Linked DNA regions of Homo sapiens: regions 1 and 2 are each linked to region 3. The links are contacts of gene promoters, found by promoter capture Hi-C in blood cells and fetal thymus (Javierre and others, 2016). All regions are on one chromosome and are shown on one strand. The core of a region is centred on a gene start or on the middle of the fragment in contact, and the rest is flanking DNA. Distances in the headings are between cores, read along the strand shown.

Region 1 (5,004 bases), core at 2,426-4,925, 5.7 Mb before region 3:
CTCAGTAGTTGTCCAAGTTTCTAAGAGTTAGGGTGAAGACAGGACATGACTGATGCGCAGTACTGTGCAACCAAAGCTTTAGAAAGGGAACTGGGTAAAGAGGCGTGTCGCCTTATGCCACCTTGTGGCAGAATTGGGTAGTTAATGAAGACCGGCTGGAGGTCGAATGACTTGGGTCCTTCAACAAATACTCATTAAGTCATCATTTGAAAAAAAAAATCACTTAAAATCTGAGTCTGTTTTCTCCTTTTAAAAAAGATTACTATTTGCTTAAATTATGTTTTTGATACAAGCAATGAGACTTTAAAAGTGAAATAAAATATTAAGTATTCTTTTTATCATTGCTAATGCTGTTTTCCCATTTATAAGTGAGGGAAAAACTTATTTTTCCAGGGATATTCCTTTTTCTCTTGATTAAGATGGTGAACAGAAGGTGGCTGGTCAGAAATGAATGGGGAATGCATTCAATGAGAGAGATCTCTGCCATCCTCCTCTTCATCTATTCTATTTTCCCAATTCGCTAGAGTGAGACAGGCTACTTTGAAGATGTCAGATGGCTGACTGAGGTGCTCAGAAAAGACAGATCTCACCAGTAGCTGCAGAATATGGTTACCTACTATGATGGTTAATTTTATGTGTCAATTTCGCTGGGCCACTGTGCCCAAATAGTTGGTGAAACATTATTCTGGATGATTCTGTGAAGGTGTTTTTGTTTGTTTGTTTGTTTGTTTGTTTTTTTGGATGAGATTAATATTTAAATTGGTAGACTAAAGCAGATTACCCTCCAAAATGTAGGTAGGCCTCATCCAATCAGTTGAGAGCCTTAATAGAACAAAGACTAACCTCCCCTGAGCAAGAATGAATTCTGCCAGCAGACTGCCTTTAGACTTAAACTGCAAATCTTTCCTGGGGCTCCAGGTTGCAAACCTGCCTTGTAGATTTTGGTTTATCCAGCCACCACAATCCTGTGAACCAATTCCTTATAATGTCCCTCTCTCTCTTTCTCAAATCTCTTTCTACACACACACACACACACACACACACACACACACACACACACACAGAGTTGATTTTATTTTCTGGAGAGCTGTGACACCTGTGAAGGTGTTAGATAACTGGAACTTTTGAGAAAGACATATATCCCAGTTGCTAGAGAATATGGTTACCTACATGGTGAGAATTGAAAGGTACTAGAAAAGTCTGCTCTCTTTGTAGAATCTTCTCTAACACTCAAGTGTGGGTTGAAGTTAGGGGTGACCTAACTCAGTTGATTGGCTCCATTTCCCTGAGATTCTCTTGGTTCTGCTCACCCCTATGTGGTCGCTCCATTCTCAAGAATGATCTCAGGAAGCCTCCAACAGTTTCAGCCTCACACAGAAAATCTGGAAGATAAAAATCTGCTTCAATTCTAGTATTCAAAGAAATTCACCCTGATTAAAGTGTCAATTGCTGACTAGGACTTTGGCTTGGGAAATGGAACTTAGTATTTAAGACAATCCTTGGAGATTGGGGTGAAATCAGTTTTCCCTAAGACTTAATGGAATCAAAGTGCTATATGGATACATGAAAAAAATCCTGGTTCTGCTAAGGTGAGGGAAGGGGAATAGCTGTTGGGTAGATCACCAATAATGTCCACCAGACACTTACGTAGTACCAGCAATTGATTTATCACAATGTAACACACAAGTGATGATACTCAAATTAAACTATACTAGTGCTAAGGAACCAGTAAAGATTAGTGGGGATTATGGTAAACAAGAATAACATGATCTATTAATAAAAGAGAGCCACGCCAAGCGTGGTGGCTCATTGCCAGTAGCTGTGGCTCAGGCCTGTAATCTCAGCACTTTGGGAGGCTGAGGTGGATGGATCGTCCGAGGTCAGGAGTTTGAGACCGGCCTAGCCAACATGGCGAAACCCCATCTCTACTAAAAATACAAAAATTAGCCAGGTGTGGTGGCGTGTGCCTGTGATCCCACCCACTTGGGAGGCTGAGGCATGGGAATTGCTTGAACCTGTGAGGTGGAGTTTGCAGTGAGCCGAGATTGTGCCACTGCACTCCAGCCTGGGTGACAGAGTAAGACTCTGTCTCGAAAAAAAGAAAAAAAAAAAAAAAGAAGAAGCCACTACTTTGCTCTAAGCAATGTGACCATGCAAAAATATAACCCTTCTGTTGCAAGATCATCAACATTTTTTAGAGAAACTGATAATTTGGATTTTTATGTAAAATAGCCATATTTTAAATGTTGGCAACTAAGTTCATTTTTGTTCTTGTTTTTAACCACGCAGGACAGCCAATACTGTCTAAAATAAACAAAGCATAACTGTTGGCTAAATGCAGTCTGTGAACCTCTAGTTTTCTGGGCTAGAAAAACCATTACTTGCCATTCAGTAGTTCTATGAATGAAAGGCTTGCTAAGAGTAGAGGAACCAAAGAAGATGAGAGAATGAGTGTCATTGTCTCATACAATGCTTTTCGGCAGGTGTGTCCCCACTCACATGTTCTCAGGCTCCCACTTCACGGAATGAAATGTGAAGTCCACTTGGGGCCAGTTAATTCTTTCCAAGATAGTCAAGGTGTTCCACTGCCAGGCACCAGGAACACTTGTTTCCCTGGTGTTGACCATCTTACTTCATTTACAGGTAAGCCCTAGCAGGTACAGGGACAAAAGTCTTCACACTAACAGAAATCCAGTGTAGATTAGCTTCTTTTTTTCCCAAGATGCCTAAATTCTATTTTTTAAAAAAGATATAGCGATCATTCTTCCATTTCTAGACCCTTAGCTGACGTCATTAGGTAGTTTATCATAGTTCTGCGAGACATACAGCTTTTCATTAATAGGTTAGATTAATTACCGTCCTATCATTAAAACGCATTTAGTTTAACTGAATGGAAAATAGCAGTTTGTCATAAACTTAAAAAAAAAAATCAATGCTTAATTAGCTTAAAATAGACTAGTACTGAGATCAGAGACTGATTGGCGTTTATCTTTTCCCTGGACAATTTCTTGTTCCCAAAAAAGCACAAGGGCAGTAGTTGTCACTCCTGCTTACGCATTAGAATCTAGTGGATGGAAATGCGGGGTTTGGGGGGAGGAGATGAGGGGAACGCTTTTTTAAAAAAGCTTTTGTCCAGGCCAAGTGATTCTAATGTGTAGACAGGGCAGAATACCGCTCCCTGTGCGGGGGAAAAAATCCCCAACATCTGAAATTCCTCAAATCCCTCAGATTCTCTCCAGAACTCTTCATTTCAGCACGTAGGGGTACCAACGAACAATTTTCTGAGGTGTCTGAGGCTAGTCATGTCCCCGGAGATTGACGGGACCGTCAGCCAATCGGCCGTCTGAACGAGTGATGGCAACCCCAATGACAAGCAACAGAATGAGGAACTTTATCCCCGCAGAAAGACCAGATCGCAGTAGCAAAGGTCAACAAGTCAACAAAAGCCAAGGGCTCTCCGTCAGGCATCAGCGAGGCCCGAGTACTCTTAGAGGTCGTAGCCAGGAGAGGGTCCCGCGCTTGCCCAGCGTTGCTAGGGAGGCGGCGCTTGCTCAAGCTTCTCGTGCCCTCTCCGTACGTCACTTCCGCCCGGCGGGGTCTCATAGTCCTATGGGCTGGGTTGAAGCCACTTCCTTTTTTCTTTCCCTTTTTCCTCTCCGTGGCCCCGCCTCCCGGAAGTTCTGCCTTGTCTCCGCCGCGGGTCAGGGGTGAGAGCTGGAATCTCTGCACGGGCCTTGGTGAGTAACTGCTGCGAGTTCTGTTCCCGCGCGGCGCCAGTTCAAAGAACTTAGGTTAGATCACGCTTAGGGCCCAACAGGACTGTGCCAGGCCTCAGGAGTCTCCACCCTCTCCAGTTTTGGGGCCGTCAGTCTCCTGGGCCTGCAATTATCCACGCTGAGGCTGAGGTCTTTGGCTTTTAGCGAGTTGGATTGCAGCCTTGTTCTGCTTCTGTGTCTTCTCTCTCCAGGCGAGGTCCTACTGAGGTTGTTGCCAGCGATAGTCCTCTCCTGGAGCTTGAATTGGAAGCAGAGTAGTCTTGTTAGTCTCGGTGATGGCTGCGTTGTTTCCTGAAGTAGCCAAAGTGCTTTAGCATCCATTCCGCCTCCTTTGAGCACCCTGGGAGGTAGGCAGGGCAGACGAAAAATATATTCGTTAATATTGTGCAGTTGAGGAAACTGAAGCTCTTGGCGAATTCACTGTTTCAAAGCAACACGGCCTCTAACAGGCAGAACTGAAATTCGCACCCAGGTCTAACTAACGTAGGGTTGCATAAAACAGTGGAGAGAGCGTTTGGAAATAGGGAAAACACTGCAAACGTTAAAGAAGAGCTGGGGTTTCTGAGTGCTTACTTTGTGTTCGGCTTTGTGCCAAATTCTTTCTATAATTATATCATCCATTTTATTTTATAATAAGCATAGGAAGTATATACTGTGGTTATTTATTCCTGGGTTAGGAAACTGAGGCTTAGAGATGATAACTGACTTGTCTAGTACTAATGACTTTAGTAGGCATTTCACAGATCTCTTTCAGCTCTGTGATTCTTTCAACACTGTAGTATTAACTTCTGGCATAATCAAACTGCCCTTTTCTGATTTTGGCATTACAGGAAGAGAGATTCCAGAACTTTATTTTTGGTCTCTTCACCCTTTGCCCATTGTCTCATTTCTTATCACCATTCTTATCACCATCCTATTTAGAAATTTATAGTCATGTAAATTTAGCCTTGACTTTCTTTTTTTTTTTTTTTTGAGACGGAGTCCCGCTCTGTTGCCCAGGCTGGAGTGCTGTGGTGCGATCTCGGCTCACTGCAAGCTCCGCCTCCCGGGTTCAAGTGATTCTCCTGCCTTAGCCTCCCGAGTAGCTGGGACTACCGGCGCCCGCCACCACGCCTGGCTAATTTTTTGTATTTTTAGTAGAGACGGGGTTTCACCGTGTTAGGCAGGATGGTCTCGATCTTCTGACCTCTTGATCCGCCCGCCTCGGCCTCCCAAAGTGCTGGGATTA
Region 2 (4,576 bases), core at 154-2,653, 8.1 Mb before region 3:
CGCGCACCTGTACTCCCAGCTACTCTGGAGGCGGAGGTTGCAGTGAGCCGAGATCGCGCCACTGCACTCCAGCCTGGGAGACAGAGCAAGACTCCGTTTCAAAATAAATAAATAAATAAATAAATTTTTGCTGAAAAAGATGCCTAATAGTAGGTATGTCATAATACCAATTATGTACCAATAAGAAGATATAGATATACCTATGAAAAGACACAGGCTGGTGTCACCACAACTTCTGAAAAAATACAAGAGAAACTTAACGGTGGCTATCTTCAGGGAGTAGAATAGGACGGGGCTTTTAGGTTACATCCTTCTATACTACTAAATTTTTAATCGAGTAAATGTTACTTTTTAAAGTCATCTTTTTTAGGATGGGGAAAAATGCACGAAGGAAAGAGTCAAGAATAGCTACAGGGCAGATCCAGGTGGACATTATTTACCAAGGTAAAAAGCTTGAACTTTTCTCCAAAAACCAATGGGGAGCCATGTACAAGTTTTAATAGGGGCATGATATATTCAGCTTGGCGTTTTTAACACATGACACTGCTGAGGACGGTGTGGCCTGGCTCCGAACACAAGGACAGTGGGATGCAAATGGCCTGAAAGGAGAGTCAACAAAAATAACAGGTAAGCGGGAAGACAACACGCGAGTTACTCATTAGTAAAAGGTGACTGAAGCTGACTTCTAATACCAGCGTTTCTCAGAGCCCCAAAGACTATCTACCTCGGAATCACCCTATGACCCAGTTAAAATGCAGATGTCTGGGCCCCACCTCAGGGCACCTGGATGAAAACTTCCTGGAGGATGGAACCCCAGCAATCTGCAACTTTAAATGGGCCCACACTAAAGTTAGAGAACCACAGGCTCGCTCACAACCCTGACTTCTCCATGTCAGTTCCGATCTTTGCGAACCGCAGACAGGGAAGGTCTTCTCTCAGGGGTCATGCCCGCGGCCGCCCTCCACGGCGAGGTCCGCACTCGCGCAGCCGGCCCCGCGGCCGCCTCACCTGGTCGCACACTACCACGTCGAACTCCTCGTCGGCGAGGAACAGCACGTAGAGCGCCAGGAAAACCATGCGCACGTAGGCGCAGACGGCGGCGCCGCGGCCGCCCCAGCCCAGGCCTCGCGGCAGCCAGTCCCCGGCACAGCGCACCGGTAGCTCGCGGCTCTCGGCGAAACAGTGGCCCGGGTCGTAGTGCGCTGTCCAGATCTTCACGCTACACCCGCGCGCCTGCAGCGCCAGCGCCGCGTCCAACACCAGCCGCTCAGCGCCGCCCACGCCCAGGTCTGGGTGGAGGAACAGCACCGACGGCTTGGGAACCGAGTCCCGTTCCCGGCCCTGCTCCTCCGCCATGGCCCTGGAGCCGCAACTGCACCCCGCACCCTGATGGGGGTCTTCTGCGCAAGCTCCGCGCTCGTAGCTCCCAGCTGGCCACTGCGGGCCGACCCCGCCCTGCCGTACGTGCGTCAGTTAGGCCACATCAGCGCAAATCTGTGAGGGTCTAGTAACTGCCTGAGAAAATATCTTGTCTGACCCCGGTTATATTTTTCCTTCGGTAGGGATTGGACTTTCTGAAGGACGTTGTGATCCAAAGGAAGGAGGCCGGAGGTCTCTACTTCCCATACAGCAGGTAACTAAGTTGTCTGTAGCAGACTGTCTACAGGCATATCGTGAGACGACCCAGGCGTCCCTGGGGTCAGAGAGGACCTTGCCTGCAAGTCCGGGGGCGGGGCCTGAGTCAGTCTCGCCAGCTGCCGGTCTTTCGGGGGCTCCGTAACTTTCTATCCGTCCGCGTCAGCGCCTTGCCACCCTCATCTCCAATATGGTATGGCGGCCCTTCCATGATCCCCGCCTCTCCCAGAAGCCCTGACTCCTCCTGCTTTGCGCCGTGCTTTTCCTCTGTAGCTCCCTTGCTTCCCCCAGCCTCGGGTGTGGGTGTCTAGGCCGGGGTTCTGGGGCAGGCCTGCCGCGCTCACCCGTCTGTCTGCTTGTCTCCCTCTACAGCCTGGTCCGACCCCCAGTGGCACTAACGTGGGATCCTCAGGGCGCTCTCCCAGCAAAGCAGTGGCCGCCCGGGCGGCGGGATCCACTGTCCGGCAGAGGTAAGGAACCCTGCAGTTCGTTCGCTTCCAGACTCGGAGATAGGACCCAGAACCTCGCTGATTCTGGGGTGGAGACCCTAGCATGTGAAGATTGACAAAGGCAAAATGAGCTTCTAGTGACGTGGCCGTGGGAGTAGTTAAAGGCCTTTTGGGAGGAAGGCGACATTTTTTTTCTCGTTGCTCAGTTTAGGGCACTACTCTTAAAAAAGGAAAGTTAACAAACTGGAATAGAGTCAGAGATAACTTTGAGAAAACCGATGTCATTAAACTGGTGTCTCTGGACCTGAGGTTTGCACTCACATTTCCATCTGGCGGCCCCATAAGCAATCTGTCCTACAGATAACTCGTCCTACACAAAACTTAGTCTCTTTTCAGCTCAGCTCTCTCACTCTCAATTATATCTCCTTACTTCCATATGGCACTGTTGTACACTCATTTACTCAGAGCCAGAAACGTCAGCGTCATCTTGGATTTTTCTTATGCTCTTTCTCTCTCTAGTCATATGCCAGACTTTAAACTCTGCTTGAAAGCTTTCTCATAAGCTCTTTCCTTTTCCCTTTCTACTGCTTTGCATTTGCTACTTAACCCTTTTCTTCAGGCTGTTTGCTTTCCAGTCCATCGTTCGCTCTGCTGTTACTCTTCTGCGTAGTTTCTGTTACTTGTTGCTGAACTAAAAAAAACAAACAAACAAAAAAAAAAAACCGGGGGGATACCAAAGCTCTTAGTGGTCATTTCAGCCTAACCTTTCTTTTTCCTTTTTTTTTTTTTGGGATGGAATCTCACTCTGTCGCCCAGGCTGGAGTGCAGTGGCACGATCTCGGCTCACTACAGCCTTTGCCTCCAGAGTTCAAGCAATTCTCCTGCCTCAGCCTCCTGAGTAGCTGAGACTGCAGGCACGTGCCACCACACCCAGCTAATTTTTTGTATTTTTAGTAGAGACGGGGTTTCACCATGTTAGCCAGGATGGTCTCGATCTCCTGACCTTGTGATCCTCCGTCTCTGCCTCCAAAAGTGCTGGAATTACAGGCGTGAGCCACTGCGCCCGGCCTTCAGCCTAATCTTTCTTTGCTGTCCTATGATCCAGCACTCGTGAACCCATTACTGTTTTCTGAATTCACAAACTTTCTCCCTCATCTCAAGGCAAATTTCTACTTATTTTCCAAGACTAAGCTCAGGGGTTATTTCCTCTTGAGGCCTTCTCTGTCTGTAAGCAGCAGTAGCTACTAGTTTTCCCTTTTGCCCCCATAGCATTTTGTTCATATCATTATAAGACCAGTGATGTTTCCATATTTATCTCCTTCATTAGACTTTAACAGAGAACCTGCTCAAGTCATTTCTATCCCAGGTACCCACCATAAGGCATGACACAATAAATAATGACTGAAGGAAGGAATCAAGCAACCAAGTTGTTTTGGGATTTTTGAAGGAACTAGTGGGGTTTTATCTAGGGAGGAAAAAATCTTGAACACATGCATGGAAACTTCTGAAGGATGTGAAGAGGGATGTGACATTTTCTGGCTGCAACAGGTAAATCTAAAACTGATGATTTGAACTTACATGAAATATTTCACATCAGAACAAAGACATTCTAATAGAACTGGCAGAAATGTAAAATTATCCTGAATGATTTTGAGTTCCCTGTCATTGGGATGTTCATGAGGAGTGTATCAGGCTGTGGTTTAACTTATATGGGCTTTGAGTGCTGTCCCCTTCCCACCCTGGGTTTTAGAGATTTTTCGTGCAGGAATGGAAAACATGTCCTGTGGGTGCGGTTCCTTGGGAATGGTTCTGCTTAATGAGAATTGGTAATACTGTGGCAGGGAAGTTTGGCCATCCGAGAATTTGTAAAGAAATAAAAGAAAAAGCACATATTTATCAAATGTACATATGATAATGAAATTATTTATTTAATAGTAAAAATGAAATAACTGATGCACAAGTGAAATGGAGAACTGAAACATTTGAAGACAGACAGATGCAGTTTTTAAAGTCGTGGGTGTTGGTGTCATCTTTTAGGATTCAGTGTGATAGAGCTAGTGTAACAAGAAAGACCATGGTTGTATGTATTGAGAGACCTGACAGTGTTTCCTTCTAGAATGGTAGTGATTAAGTATCATTTCATGAGTATAATGTAATAAGTATTGGTTGTTTAAGAATATCTTTGCTTTATAAGTCTGAGAAAACATTGGAAGTTAATGATTCATAATAGTGCTTTGGATTATGTTGTCTGTAGAGCTGCCTTCTCCATGCTTGATGAGGTGATAGATACTACCTTGGAGGAGAAATGTTATTAAATTTAAGCTCAGGCCAGAGTTGGTGTTCTTGCTCTCCTAAATACAATATAAAAGGAACTTGCTGTGAGGAGCAATAATGCTTTATAAACTGTAAAGGTGTGAAGTGCCACATAGTGTTCTAGCAGGATTAATGGGAATCAGGGATATTAAGATGGCGGAATAGCCACCAATGTATAG
Region 3 (4,859 bases), core at 980-3,479:
ATGAATTGCATGTGGTGGTTGGGAGTGGGTGAGTGAGGGAAGAGAGTTATCAGGGATGAAGACCAGATTTTTGGTCTGAGCACCTGGGTAGACTGTGAGGCCATAAACTAAGATGGGGGAAAACTGGGAGAGGGGCAGTTTGCAGGGGGGAAGGAGGTCCAGAGAGAAATCAATTGTTCTCTTTGGCCACATTAAGTTTCAGAGGCTTGTTACATATTCAGGTGAAGATATTGCTTAGGCAATTGGCTAACTCTATAGCTAAGGGGAAAGGTCCAGGCTGGAGGTATTTCAAAACAAGGGCCAAGATGAAACCACCTGGTGACTACGAGTAGATACAGGAAGACAGAGGGCAGAAGATTGCATATTTAATTACTATGAAGGGAGTTATGTGTTGTGAAAGGGGAAATATCAGGTTAGTGGAGGGAGAAGCTGGTCAAGGAAAGTTTCTTGAAAACATTAAACCCAAGCTCCTTGAAGCCACTGAAAACCAAGCAGTGACATTGTATTAGTGAGGATGCTGTCCCAGAGAAGTAATTTGTAATTGGTCATAGAGCTAGTGGCCTGACTAGAACTGTGTTTTATACTTGAACTAAATCAAATGTGCCACAGGCACAGTATAAAACAGAGGAGAATAGCTGGGAGCGATGGCTCACATATAATCCCAGCACTTTGGGACTCCGAAGCAGGAGGATTACTTGAGCCCAGGAGTTCAAGACCAGCCCTGGCAACATAGGGAGAACATATCTGTACAAAAAAATAAAATATCAGCTGGGAAGCAGTGGTGTGTGTCTGTGGTCCCAGCTACTCAAGAGGCTGAGGTGGAAGGATCTCTTGAGCTCAGGAGGTTGACGCTGCAGTGAGCCGTGTTTGTGCTACAGCGCTCCAGCGTGGATGACAGTCAGACGCTTTAAAAAAATAAGAATAATCTTTAAAACAAAAAACAGGGGAATAGTGGCACACCCTGGGACACAGACTCTGGAGTCATTCTGTCTGAGGTCACATTGTGGATTTGCCATTTACTACTGGCTGGGTTATTCCAGGTGCATTACTCAACATCTCTGTACTTCAGTTTTCTATCTGTAAACGGACTTTCTACTAATAGCTAACTGCTTACAGACTGTTTATCATGATTTTACATACAATATTCAACTTCCCCCTCCAATAATCAATGAGTGACATTATTATTCTCATTCTACTGCTGAGGATCCAGAAGCACATTCACCCATTCCACAAATATTTACCGTGCACCTGCAATGTGCCAGGCATGTTCATGGGTGAACACAGCAAAATCTTTGCCTCTGTGCAGCTTCAGTCTGGGGTTCACAGGAAAAGGAGAAAGATGATAAACAAGAGATACGTACATTACAGGGTAATTATAAAGGGATACCCGCTATACAAGAAAACAGAGCAGGATAACAGAGATAGGAAGTTGGGATTTTAAGTAAGGCAGCCAGAACAGACCTCACCAAGAAGGCAATATCTGAGCAAGGATGTTAAGGGAGCCGGGGGCAACCTAGAATCCACCAGTGGGGAGAGTAAGGCGACTCGGAGAAAGGCGAGGGGCTAATGCATCCGTTCTAATAACTCTGACTTTAACTCGGGGCTAGATGGGGAAACACTGGACAGTTCTACCCCGAGGTGTGACAGAACTTGACCTTCATTTTAAATCGGTCCATCTGTTTAGGCTAGTGAGAAAAAACAATATTTGAACTCGGGCAGTCCAGCTCAGGAGTCTGTGCTGTCGGGATTAAAGAATCAGTCGACACCCCCAGGGCTGAGCCCCGCAGCAAGCGCCCCGCGGGTGCTGGCCCCCAGACTGTGGTTACCGCCATCCTTTCACTTAAACTCCGCCCCGATTACTCCCCCGCTCCAGGGCTCCGCATCCACTCTGCCGGGTCTCCACGAAGCGCTTCCCGGGCTACACATTGCGTAACTTCGGCAGCCGGGCGGAGCCTGCACAGAGGCGGAGCCGCGGCAGCCGGAGAGAACGCCCCAGCAATAGTCGCTAGGAGGAAGCCCCAGGAGCCCTTGCCGCCCACGGAACGCGCCTGCGTAATCCGGGTCCAGGCCGCCGACATTCCAGGACCGCCTTCCGCCCCGCCCCCAATTCTGGGGCGGAGTCCTCGGCCGCGCCGGCGCAAAGCGTCGCCGCACCCCACGCCTGCGCGCTTCGCCCGCCCGGCCCCATCCCCCCAGGTTTTTCGCGTGGGGGAGGGGGCACGTCTCGGCGAGTCACGATGATGGCGGCCACCATCCTGTGGTGAGCTAGCGGATTCCCTGCTTGTCTCGCCGACCCCCTCGCGCCTTCTGCAGACTCCGTGGCTGGCGCTCGGCGCGTGAGGAAGCACGGCGGCCCGAGTTCGCGGGGAAGGCCGCAGTCGCGGAGGCAGCGGCGCGGTCCGGGGCACGGGCTGGGGGAGAGGCCGCTCCGCTGGGCGAATGTGACAAGCCCCCACCCCCACCGCCTTCCTCCCCAGAGCGCGAGGAGCGCGGGCGACCCCGGGGCCCCGCCAGGCCACAGACCCCGCCCAGCGGCCAGCACCCGGCGCAGGCCCGGCAGCCGAGCTGCGCGGCGGCACCATGCAGGTCACCCTGAAGACCCTCCAGCAGCAGACCTTCAAGATAGACATTGACCCCGAGGAGACGGTATGCGCGCGGGCCGGGGGCAGGGGCAGCCGCGTGCGGGCCGCGGGGAGCGCCAGGAGCTCGTGGGGCCGGGCGGCGCGCTCCAGCGGGGGAAGCCCCGGAGGGCGCGATGAGGGCCCTGGGTCCTGGTGCCGGCCCTGGCGGCGTACAGCGGAGCCGATCCTCCTGTCTTGGCCGTGGGCTTTGTGGCAGGAGAATGGGGAAGCAGTGGCCGGACGCCGAAGGCCTGGTGGCAGATGGCGTGGAGCGCACGCCCGCGGGCCTGGGCCTAGGAGCTCGTGCTAGCGGGGCCGGAGGGGGATGGGAAGGTCCAGGCCGTCTCAGCCGTAGAGCCTGGCTTTCTGGTATGGGTGCACAGGTGGGGGAGGGAGACGTAGGCGTCGCCACTACCCCTGTGTGGACCTGGTTAGCCGCTTAGTTCCCAGAGTTGGTAACCCGAGAAGATGAGCCTTAAGAAAAAAAAAAGTATCAGGTTCCGTTTGCCGCCGAGAGGTGAGTGGTGGTGAAAATGAATTTGCCCCTTTCCCCTCAGAATTGTTTACCCTTTTATTTGCAAATGAATCGTTCTGCTGCCTTCCTCCCGCCACCAAACCCACACCCTTGCGTAGATTGCACTTTGAGGCCTCTTTGGTGATGGTTTTAGCTGTTAGAGCTCTTCACAGCCATCCAGGCTCAAACTAAACTTCAGATTTAACGGGTTTTCTGTGTTAGAAATCTTGGAATTGTAGGAGTTGGAACGCTGCAGCCACCCTCCCCCGATGCCCCAAACAGTAGCAGTTCAAGGGGGAAAAAAGAAAAAAAAAACAAAAAACAACAACTTTGAATCCTTTCTGCAGTTAAAGCCTTAAACATTTCAGAAGTCCACATTATACATTTTTCTGTATTTGTGACTGCATAAAGAGACACTGTTGAGGTCAGTACAACTTTATGCCAAGAATCTAAAAACGCTGTGAGTGTAAATTTACTGCTTATGTTCGGAAATACACCGCCAAGATTGTCATAATACTAAGTTTAAACCAGCAGCTTTCTGCCCAACTCTATTTTTAAAAGTAGTTGATTCTATTTTGGGTGGAGATCAGGGGCTTTGGTGTTAAGTAGACCTGAGTTCCATTTGTGGTTTTGTAACTTATTTGCTATGACCTTGGGCAAATTACGGTTAGTTTCATTCTCTGTATAATAGGGATAATACCTGCCTTGCAGAGATGTGAAGATTAGATGGTATGTATTTACTTGGTGGTCAGTAAATGGAATCGATTATTTAAACAATGGATTCCTTTGAGTGGAGATACAGTGTTACGTTTTACTTATCTCATTTAATCTTAAGTTTTGTACATCTTTAATTTTTTAAGAAACAGCCTTTTTGGGATTTTGGTACAAAATTATTTGATTTCAGAATATTTATATGTGGGTGTATGCTGTGTGATTAACTTCTTAAAAGTACAGGAGATCTCAGTTATACATGAGAAACTTTTCAGTGTCCTCAGAAGTAATTGACAATACCCTGTGGACTGACAGTACTAATAGAATCTAATTTCTCTTGAATATTTCTTTACTGCTTAATGTGCATTAATAAGTTGAAGGGTGAAAGTTAAAATGGAGTTTGTTTGATGATTTCAGACAAACTACGTAAAATGCCTATTTGACTTTGGTTCTTTGTGGTAACAAATGTTGGTGCCCCAGTAACTTAATCGGCTTATAATACTCAGTTAATTTCAGAATTATTGAAAGCTAAAGAAATATTGTGGCTTTTTGGTAAATATGTGTGGGTGTATTGAAGTTATGCAGTGACTCTGTCAACAGCTCCACTGAAGTATTTACGTTCTGTAAGATTTGTTTAGCGTTTTAGGCACTTTACGCATACTGTTAACTGAGAGTCAATGCTGTACCTGTGTTTGTGTGAATTCTTAACTATTTTTGCTGTTTTCCAGTTTATTTCCAAGGAAAAGTAATATGTTATACGTCTGGAAGTATATTTTTGAAAAGCCCATTGTTAGGGAGCGGTTTCTACAGCTTTCGCTGCTATTTATATAAATATAATTTTGTTGCTGTTAGTATAAAAAAACTAATACTGTTAGTCCGGGGCAAGAAATTAAAGCATTTCCTCTGGGATATATGGAACGTTTGCATTTAATGACTTGTCAGTTTTTATTTTAATGACTTTAGGAAATATTTTTCATGACAACTGTTTCAATTCTATGTTTGTAGTGGGTTTT

The links. Contacts are between HindIII fragments. The CHiCAGO score rates a contact against its expected background, and 5 or more counts as called.
Region 1: a contact is called between the fragment with the promoter of RNF20 here and the fragment with the promoter of RAD23B in region 3, in 4 of 17 cell types (total CD8 T cells, activated CD4 T cells, naive CD4 T cells and 1 more). The highest score is 9.4, in total CD8 T cells.
Region 2: the fragment with the promoter of ALG2 here is called in contact with the fragment with the promoter of RAD23B in region 3 in 1 of 17 cell types (naive CD4 T cells); the score reaches 5.5 in naive CD4 T cells.

What each region holds. Positions count from the first base shown.
Region 1 is chr9:101,530,178-101,535,181 of GRCh38, forward strand. It overlaps RNF20 (ring finger protein 20), which reads left to right and starts at 3,676. Exons shown (of 20, transcript NM_019592.7): 1 at 3,676-3,737. It also overlaps a transcript of PGAP4 not described here. RefSeq lists an enhancer at 3,418-3,547. The HindIII fragment of the contact is 1,893 bases long and covers 3,555-5,004 here.
Region 2 is chr9:99,220,539-99,225,114 of GRCh38, forward strand. It overlaps ALG2 (ALG2 alpha-1,3/1,6-mannosyltransferase), which reads right to left and starts at 1,404. Exons shown (of 2, transcript NM_033087.4): 1 at 1,009-1,404. The coding sequence starts at 1,356. SEC61B (SEC61 translocon subunit beta) reads left to right here and starts at 1,744. Exons shown (of 4, transcript NM_006808.3): 1 at 1,744-1,828; 2 at 2,008-2,105. The coding sequence starts at 1,826. RefSeq lists an enhancer at 1,494-1,813. The HindIII fragment of the contact is 2,183 bases long and covers 451-2,633 here.
Region 3 is chr9:107,281,050-107,285,908 of GRCh38, forward strand. RAD23B (RAD23 nucleotide excision repair protein B) reads left to right here and starts at 2,230. Exons shown (of 10, transcript NM_002874.5): 1 at 2,230-2,646. The coding sequence starts at 2,581. RefSeq lists an enhancer at 1,559-1,718 and a silencer at 2,209-2,768. The HindIII fragment of the contact is 9,258 bases long and covers 1-4,859 here.